2 separate regions of the Homo sapiens genome follow, and region 2 is linked to region 1. The links are contacts of gene promoters, found by promoter capture Hi-C in human tissues and cell types (Jung and others, 2019). All regions are on one chromosome and are shown on one strand. Each heading gives the region's core, a stretch centred on a gene start or on the middle of the fragment in contact. The rest is flanking DNA. Distances are from core to core; before and after follow the strand shown.

Region 1 (4,397 bases), core at 1,898-4,397:
GGAATGGCCAAGAGAGTCGCTCTTTGTGGGAAGAATTATAATTGAGTTTTCCTGGCTCAGCTTCCGAATGAAGGAATCCTAGCCAGGGCCAAGTCAGAACCCCAAAAGCCTATGTCCTCTCACCCCTTTCTCCCATTCCCCTTGCACCTCTTCCTGCCGTCACTTCTAGGAAAAGGGTGGTGAGTCCCCAGTTGCACCTACCATCGCACCATATGCATCCCTACATACCCACACATGCACACCACACACTTCCAGAGAGAAACCCAGAAGATCCTAAGTGATATCCAGCCAGTCCTGTGCTTGGTTATGAGGCGTCTCCCCAGGCTTTACTCTGAGTGTGAAGATGCCCACATTTGTTTCTCTGTGGTACCTACAGTATCCAGGACGCTTCTGCTCTCATTTGATAGAGGCAGCAGTTCCAAACTCCCCCTCCCCACCCCCAGGAATACTTATCTCTGTGGAGAGTTAGTTAGTCGGTGGGTAAAGACAGTGAGGCCCCCACCATGTGCCCAGCACAGAAGAACACAAGACCTTCTTACTGGAGGCTTAGGGCAAAGCCCTCTTTCTCCCAGAGAAGCACAGACTGATGATCTCACAAAGTACCTCCAAAAGAAGGAGACACCTGCCCTGTAGGTCCTGTAGGTTCAAGGTGCTATGGGAAGAAGTGATGGGCTTGGCAGGAAAAGGGGGCCTGTAGGCATTTCAACCAGGGGCCTTGCTACACTCCCCAATACAAGCCTAAGGGGGAGGAAGAGTAGTTTTGTTTGTTGTTTTTCTCGTCTTGGGCCTTTCTCTTTCACCAGATACTGGAAGTAACAGCTCTTAACACCTTTCAACTTTTAGAGTGGCAGGTTTAATGCACAGGACTTTCCATAAGACTAGAGACCCAGGGAAGGAGGTAGGTACCAAACTCAAATGCTGGCAGCCCTTTCTGAGCAAAGATAAAACAGGGAGGGCCACAAACCCTAACAAATGCTAGAAATATGACGGAGAGAGCCACAGGCTATGCGAGAAACTTCGTCGCTGCAGCCTGTGGCTTTGAGGTTTACAGCTGTCACGTGTATCTTTCCAGCCACACCCTCCAAGGCTGGGGACACGCACTTGGAGGCCTCTTAGAATGGAGGACAGCAAACAGACAGCAGAGAATGCGCTGGGCAAAGGAAATTCTGTTATTTTGTTAAGCTATTATTATGATAAATAATCACAGGGCTCCAGGCGCAAGAGACTTTTTCATGTTGGTAGGAGATGTTATGGCTTTTGTTGCTGATATGATCTCAGTTAAACCTTACAACCACCCTGTGACGAAGACCAGTTTTATGAACGTCTTTAATGATGGGGAAACTGAGGCTGCAGTCAGTTTTCAGTCAGACTAGTCACAGAACAGGGACTGAGACACACGGATATGACTCTGTGTGACACCACACACTTCCAGGGGAGAACCCAGAACAAGGTGGAGCAAGCCCGACCCAATATACCACTAGAGAGAGCTGTGAGAGGGAGAGGAAGGAGAGAGGGACTGAACTAAAGGAGCACTATCAAAAAGTGGAGTGGAGACCCCAGTCCTAGCACCACCGTTTATTTCCTACAGACCCTAAAGCTCAGCCACGGACACATTCATTCATCCAACCCTGACTTGGCCACCACAAGAACGTTCCCAGCTTGAGGGCAGCTTCGCCAGCCAATTAGGGCCCTTGTCATTCGTAGAGATACAGGGAACCCGAGACAGAGGGACAGGGAAGGAAATTTAGCCAGGCAAGCCATCCTCCATCTCCAAGGAAGTTTGTAAATGATCACAGCTTCCTAACCCAACCGTGAGAATGCAATAAGCAAGCTGACGCAGAAGGGAGGACAAGGAGTCTCAGGAACCAGAGGAGACCACGGTGAGAGTGAGGGGAATGTCGCTCACATATCTCACTTCTGAGACAAGATATACCGCAACAAACCCATGCCAAGCTTCCTCCAGTTCTTCCCACTTTTGAATATCACATTTTTCTTGCTCTGCAAGAGTAGGGAATCCTTCCCATCAGTCTTGTGAATTCTGACCCCTTGCTGGCTTTCTACAACTCCCTGCCTGGGAGGCCGACACCAGGACATTGCTGTTGGGGGTGGGATCCCCATCCTCTGCCCCCCACTCCTACACTATAAGAGAATCAACTTTCCCCAAAAAGTGGAGGGTATCCCTGTCTCTCTTCTTGTCTCTGTAAAGGGGGTGAAGCTCTGGGTCGCCGCAGATGGATCTAAAGGGACAGTTCACGGAGTGGTAAAGGATATCCAAAAATTGGCCTTCTAGAGCACAGCAAAAAAGTGGGAGCGAGACGAGAGCAGAAGGCCACTGCTGGGATGGGGCCAGGGCCACACGTGAACATCCGAGCACGTTCCAGAGCTGAGATGCAAAACACCCAGAAAATCACATAGGAAGTGGAAAAGGTTCTGGGTCTCTCCCACTGGAAAAGCCCAGAAGAGCTAGTGGCCACCCCTTGGGGCAAGAGGGGGTTGTGCAATGACTGCGGGTCTGGGAGTCTCTGGGCTTGGCTCCTGGACGCCAGAAAGGGAACCCCACGCGTCAAGCCATGGTGGCAGCGCGGCGGTTGGTTCGAGGCCAGGCTGGGGTTTCAGGGCTGCAGACAGAGCTGCAGGATACGATGAGTGCCCAAGGGGGCGGCAGAGCATGGCATGGCTGGCACGGCGCGGAGCTGGGGGTGCTGTCTGGGCTGGCCGGGGTACAGGCCGGAGGGGTACAGTGCACAAAGCCGGGGTGCAGATAACGTACACGGCAGCCAGGAGCCTCCGATCAGAGGAGGGCCCGCTGACCTGCAGGGGTGTGCCGGGCGGTGCACGACAGGGGGCACTGTCCCTCCAGCTCCCTCCTCCCCAGGCTCTCACCTCGAACATAAGCCCGATGAGGACGCAGAGCACCAGGCAGAAGCCGATGTCCGCATGGTTGTGGATGACGAACTCCTGGCTGAAGAGCGGGTAACTTTTCGTCCTCCTGCGGAAAGCCATGGCAGCGGGCGCGCAGCGGCCGGCGGGGCCCGCACCCTGCGCTCACGAACCGCAGCGCAAACTTCTCCAGCACCGGCCCGGTCCGCCCGCCGGCCCGCCGCCCGCTCTCCCACAGCCGCTCGCCCGCCCAGCGCGGAACAACTTCGGGGCCCGCCCCCTTCCTCCGCCCGCCCCCGGCCGCCCGTAACCGCCCCCGGCCGCAGCCCCCGCCCAGCCCCCGCCCAGCCCGCGGCCCGCACTCGGCGCGCCTGGCCCCGCCCCCCGCGGGCTTAACCCTCTAGCCGCTGGGCACGCGCGGGCTACCGGGGCGGAGGCGTACGGGGGCGGCGAGCGGGGCTCGGCTCCTCCTCGTCCCGCGCCAGCGCCGCGCCCGGCCGCATTCTCGGGGCCCGAGGCTCAGCCGCTCGCGGTGGAGAAAGCAGGCCGCGGAGGAGGCGGGCGCCCAGGCCTGCCCGGACAGGAAGTGGGCCCAGCTTTCCCACTCCTCGCTCCGCTCCTTCCTCCGCGGGAAGGGCAGGCCCCGGAGGCAGCGAGCGCCCCGGGGGTGGCCGGGCAGCCGGATGCTCCCGGGGTTGCGGGCTGTGGCCCCGGGGGCTGAGGGCGGCGCGGGTGCGGCGGAAGCAGGGAAGCCGCGAACCGGCCTTCTGGCTGGCCACAGCGCCCTGCACGGACGATCAGTGAATGGAGATTACTCAAGTATTTATCGAGAACTTGCAGTGGGCTAGGCACAGTTCAGGTAGATCAACAAACCGAAAGACCCTGCCCTAGGGGAGCTTTCGCTCCAATGCGGGGAGAGGGTGGATGATTGCAGTTTTGCCCAGTAATTTTTGGGACCCTCATGCCACCATTAATTAGCTACACACATTTCACCGAAAGTCTACCTTACATATTAATCAGAAGAAGTGGAAGAATAAACACAGAAGAAGCAAAAAAGGAAGGAACTTTCTCACTGAAAGTTTCTATTTAATATTAAGTCTTAAAAGTACTCCTGGAAGGACAAAAGGTGTTCTTAATAAATTATATTCGCAAATATTGGATTTAATCCTACCAGTAATGAAGCAGTCAGTTACTTTCTAGATGTGCAGAAATACGTAATGAACAAAAAAAACTAATTCCTATTCCATTTTTTATTAGGTCCACAGTTATTTCACTTCTAAATAAATATGGTTTTTTAAAAGTGGCACGCGGTGGAATGTAATTGAGACAGGATGGAGTTCCTAGAGAAATTTTACTTCCTCAATCTGCACTCCACCTTACTTAAAATACAGTCTTGGGTCTGTAATTCCCTTATCTGACTCTCAAGGAAATGACAAAGTAATGCCTAGATTGGACTAAACCTCATTTAACTTCAAGGCTGACCTTTCTCAAAGTTGAACCTTCGTCTTGTGAGGAAC
Region 2 (4,397 bases), core at 334-2,833, 140 kb before region 1:
AACGTTTTATCTTAAGTGTGAGTTTACAAAAATAGCACTACTTCTATTAGCAGATATGAGCCTAAAATTTTTTGTGTAGCTCATATATTTTTGGTAAATGATACTTGCTATATTCTAGGAAAGCTTACCATCTAAAGAATTTCTGAAATGAAACCATTTTTAAATGAAAAAACCTCTTCTATATGTAAAAAGTCCTCTATTTCGTAAGTTTGGATTTTTTAATACAAAGGAAACTTTTATTAAAGTTACATGCATAGAGGATATAGGTGGCCTTTCTTTACTACAAAGTGTAGGAATTAGGAAGTCAATTCCAAATTTGTCTTAGTTAAAAAAATATTTCTAGCAGCAAAGATATAGTTTCTGAAGTATTTTATGTCCCTATTCCAGGATACCTAGTGCCATATGTGACTAATTTTTACCATGCACTGAGCTCCTATGAATCCATTATTGTTTTCATTTAGTAGTTTGTTTAACAGATATTTATTTGCATGCCTGCTTTGTTCCATGCACTGTTCTAGGTGCCAGATGTTTTCAGGAAGGTACTTGATATTTTTCAGATGACTATGACAAGCTAATAGTGCACCATTTCTCCTTTCCTTGCATGTTATAGGTACTTGCCCCTATAGAGGTTCCAATCTTGTTGGAGGAGATAAGCAATAGCAAATAAATAGATTGGTTATATGTCAGATGATGATAACAGCAATGGAGGAAAATAAAGCTGAGTAAAGGGAATGGAAGTTGAGGGGCTCTTTATAGAGGCGGATCAGAGAATGCCTCAGTGATAAGATGACATATGAATAGAGGCCTGAAGGAAGTAAAGAAAGGAGCCATGGCATCAGTGCCATTCCAAAGCAATAGAGAAAAATAGCTTCAAAAGTAGAGGTGCTAGACCATCTTTGAGATATTCTCCCGTTCCAACATATTTTTATCTCTTTGCTTTTTAGGTGTCTGAGGTCTTATATATCATAGGCAGTTTCACAATTGTACCAACAGTGAGAAATGATAAAATGTTATCTAAACATAAATGTATTAACAATTATTTTTACAGTTGTGTTTTCATAACAATTATTTTTACAGTTGTGTTTTTATGGGCAATTTGAACATTTGCAAGTTAATCACTGAGCGTTTGACCTAATCTATTTATAGTCGGTTCTCATTATTGACAGTAATTAGGACTATAAAGTCACCACAAACACTGAATTAGTGAATACTGAACCACTAGTCTTAGAGGAAATACAGGGTTAGGTTCCCACTAATCTCTGGCCACATTTTTGTCAACTGATCAATACATAAGTTTGATTCATGTATGTTTCTGTTTAAAGACACCTTATTTAATATATACGGTTGATTCATTAACATTAAACTCACACCCAACAGCACTATAACTCACGTCTGAACAAAGCTTATCTAAGACATGCATTTTCTCCATGAGGTGTGTTACAGCCTTCTTGTGCTTAGGAACACTAAATAGCACTTCATCACTAGGCACTGGGACCCTTTAAACAGCAAAATCACCAACAAAAAACACAAAAATGCAAAAAATCTGGCACCTTCATGTATATGTATATGTATGTGTATATGTATCACATTTTCTTTTTCCAGTTTACCATTGATGGGCATTCAGGTTGATTCCATGTCTTTGCTATTATGAATAGTGCTGCGATGAACATACTTGCGGGTATGTCTTTATGGCAGAATGATTTATATTCCTTTGGGTATATACCCAATAATGAGATTCCTAGGTCAAATGGTAGTTCTGTTTTCAGGTCTTTTAGGAATCACTACACTGCTTTCTACAATGGTTGAACTAATTTATACTCTCATCACCAGTGTATAAACATTTCTTTTTCTCCACAACCTTGACAGCACCTGTTATTTTTTTACTTTTTAATAATAGCCATTCTGACTGGTGTGAGATGATATTTCATTGTGGTTTTGATTTGCATTTCTCTAATGATAGTGATGTTGAGCTTTTTTTTCATATGGTTATTGGCCATGTGTATGTCTTCTTTTGAGAAGTGTCTGTTCATGTCCTTTGCCCACTTTTTAATGGGGTTCTTTGCTTTTTTTCTTGTAAATTAAAGTTTCTTATAGATGGTGCATATTGGACCTTTGTCAGATGCATAGTTTGCAAATATTTCTTTCCCATTCTTTAGATAGTCTTTTTACTCTGTTGATGCTTTCTTTTGCTCTGCGGAAGCTCTTACGTTTAATTAGATACCATTTGTCAATTTTTGCTTTTGTTGTGATTGCTTTTGGTGTCTTTGTCATGAAATCTTTGCCCATTCCTATGTTTAGAATAGTGTTGCCTTGGTTGTCTTCCAGGGTGTTTATAGTTTTGGGTTTTACATTTAAGTCTTTTATCTATCTTGAGTTGATTTTTATATCTGGTGTAAGATATATGGCTAGCATATGGCTAGCAGGTTATCCCAGCACCTTTCCCCATTGCTTATTTTTGTCAACTTTGTTGAAGATCACATAATTATAGGTGTGTAGCCTTATTTCTGAGCTCCCTATTCTATTCCATTGGTCTATGTGTCTGTTTTTGTACCAGTACTGTACTGTTTTGGTTACTGTAGCCCTGTAGTATAGTTTGAAGGCAGGTAACATGATGCCTCCAGCTTTGTTCTTTTGCTTAGAATTGCCTTGACTATTCAGGCTCTTTTTGGGTACCATTGAATTTTAAAGTATTTTTTTCTAGTTCTGTGAAGAGTGTCACTGGCAATTTGATAGGAATAGCATTGAATCTGTACATTGCTTTGGGCAGTATGGTGACTGTAAAGATATTGATTTTTCGTATCCATGAGCATGTAATGTTTTTTCATTTGCTTGTGTTATCTCTGATTTCCTTAAGCAGTGTTTTGTAATTCTCATTGTAGAGATCTTTCATCTCCCTGGTTAGCTGTATTCCTAGGTATCTTATTCTTTTTGTGACAGTTGTAAATGGGATTGTGTTCCTGATTTTACTCTCAGCTTGGCTGTTGTTGGTGTATAGGAGTGCTAGTGATTTTTGTATGTTGATTTTGTGTCCTAAAATTTTGCCGAAGTTGTTTATTAACTTAAGGAGTTTTTGGGATGAGGCTCTGGAGTTTTCTAGATATAGAATCATGTTTTCTCCAAACAGGGATAGTTTGACTTTCTCTCTTCCTACTTGGATGTCCTTCATTTCTTTCTCTTGACTGATTGTTCTGGCCAAGACTTCCAATATTGTCTTGGATAGAAGTTGTGGAAGAGGGCATCCTTTTCTTGTGTCAGTTTTCAAGAGGAATGCTTCCAGCTTTTCCCTGTTCAATATAATGTTGGCTGTGGGTTTTTCATAGATGGCTCTGATTATTTTGAGGTGTGTTCCTTTAATACCTAGTTTATTTATTTATTTATTTTATTATTATACTTTAAGTTATGGGGTACATGCGCACAACGTGCAGGTTTGTTGCATATGTATACATGTGCCATGTTGGTGTGCTGTACCCATTAATTTGTCATTCAATTAGGTATATCTCCTAGTGGTATCCCTCCCCACACCCCCCACCCTATGACAGGCCCCAGTATGTGATGTTCCCCACCCTGTGTCCAAGTGTTCTCATTGTTCAATTCCCACCTATGAGTGAGAATATGCAGTGTTTGGTTTTCTGTCCTTGCGATAGTTTGCTCAGAATGATGGTTTCCAGCTTCATCCATGTCCCTACAAAGGACATGAGCTCATCATTTTTTATGGCTGCATAGTATTCCATGGTGTATATGTGCCACATTTTCTTAATCCAGTCTATCATTGTTGGACATTTGGGTTGGTTCCAAGTCTTTGCTATTGTGAATAGTGCCGCAATAAACATATGTGTGCATGTGACTTTATAGCAGCATGATTTATAATCCTTTGGGTATATGCCCAGTAATGGGATGGCTGGGTCATATGGTATTTCTTGTTCTGGATCCTTGAGGAATCACCACACTGTCTTCCACAATGGTTGAATTAGTTTACATTCCCACCAACAGTGTAAAAGCATTCCTATTTCTCCACATCCTCTCCAGCACCTGTTGTTTCCTGACTTTTTAATGATCTCCATGCTAACTGGCATGAGATGTGTGGTTTTGATTTGCATTTCTCTGATGGCCAGTGATGATGAGCATTTTTTCACGTATCTGTTGGCTGCATAAATGTCTTCTTTTGAGAAGTGTCTGTTCATATCCTTCGCCCACTTTTTGATGGGGTTGTTTTATTTTTTCTTGTAAATTTGTTTAAGTTCTTTGTAGATTCTGGATATTAGCCCTTTGTCAGATGGGTAGATTGTAAAAATTTTCTCCCATTCTGTAGGTTGCCTGTTCACTCAGATGGTAGTTTATTTTGCTGTGCAGAAGCTCTTTAGTTTAATTACATCCCATTGGTCAATTTTGGCTTTTGT

What was found. The method cuts DNA at HindIII sites, captures the fragments that hold promoters and counts their contacts. A contact is called where the count stands out against the background at its distance.
Region 2: a contact is called between a fragment that was not itself captured here and the fragment with the promoter of TRAM2 in region 1, in 2 of the 25 tissues and cell types used here (H1 embryonic stem cells and adrenal gland).

Annotation. Positions count from the first base shown.
Region 1 is chr6:52,573,913-52,578,309 of GRCh38, forward strand. It overlaps TRAM2 (translocation associated membrane protein 2), which reads right to left and starts at 3,148. Exons shown (of 11, transcript NM_012288.4): 1 at 2,884-3,148. The coding sequence starts at 3,003. TRAM2-AS1 (TRAM2 antisense RNA 1) reads left to right here and starts at 3,290. Exons shown (of 3, transcript NR_103446.1): 1 at 3,290-4,397. RefSeq lists an enhancer at 554-603 and silencers at 954-1,003, 2,861-3,720. The HindIII fragment of the contact is 6,429 bases long and covers 1-4,397 here.
Region 2 is chr6:52,438,926-52,443,322 of GRCh38, forward strand. The region is part of intron 3 of EFHC1 (EF-hand domain containing 1); the gene reads left to right. Among named protein-coding and RNA genes, the nearest start is that of EFHC1, 21 kb to the left of the region's middle. The HindIII fragment of the contact is 6,132 bases long and covers 1-4,397 here.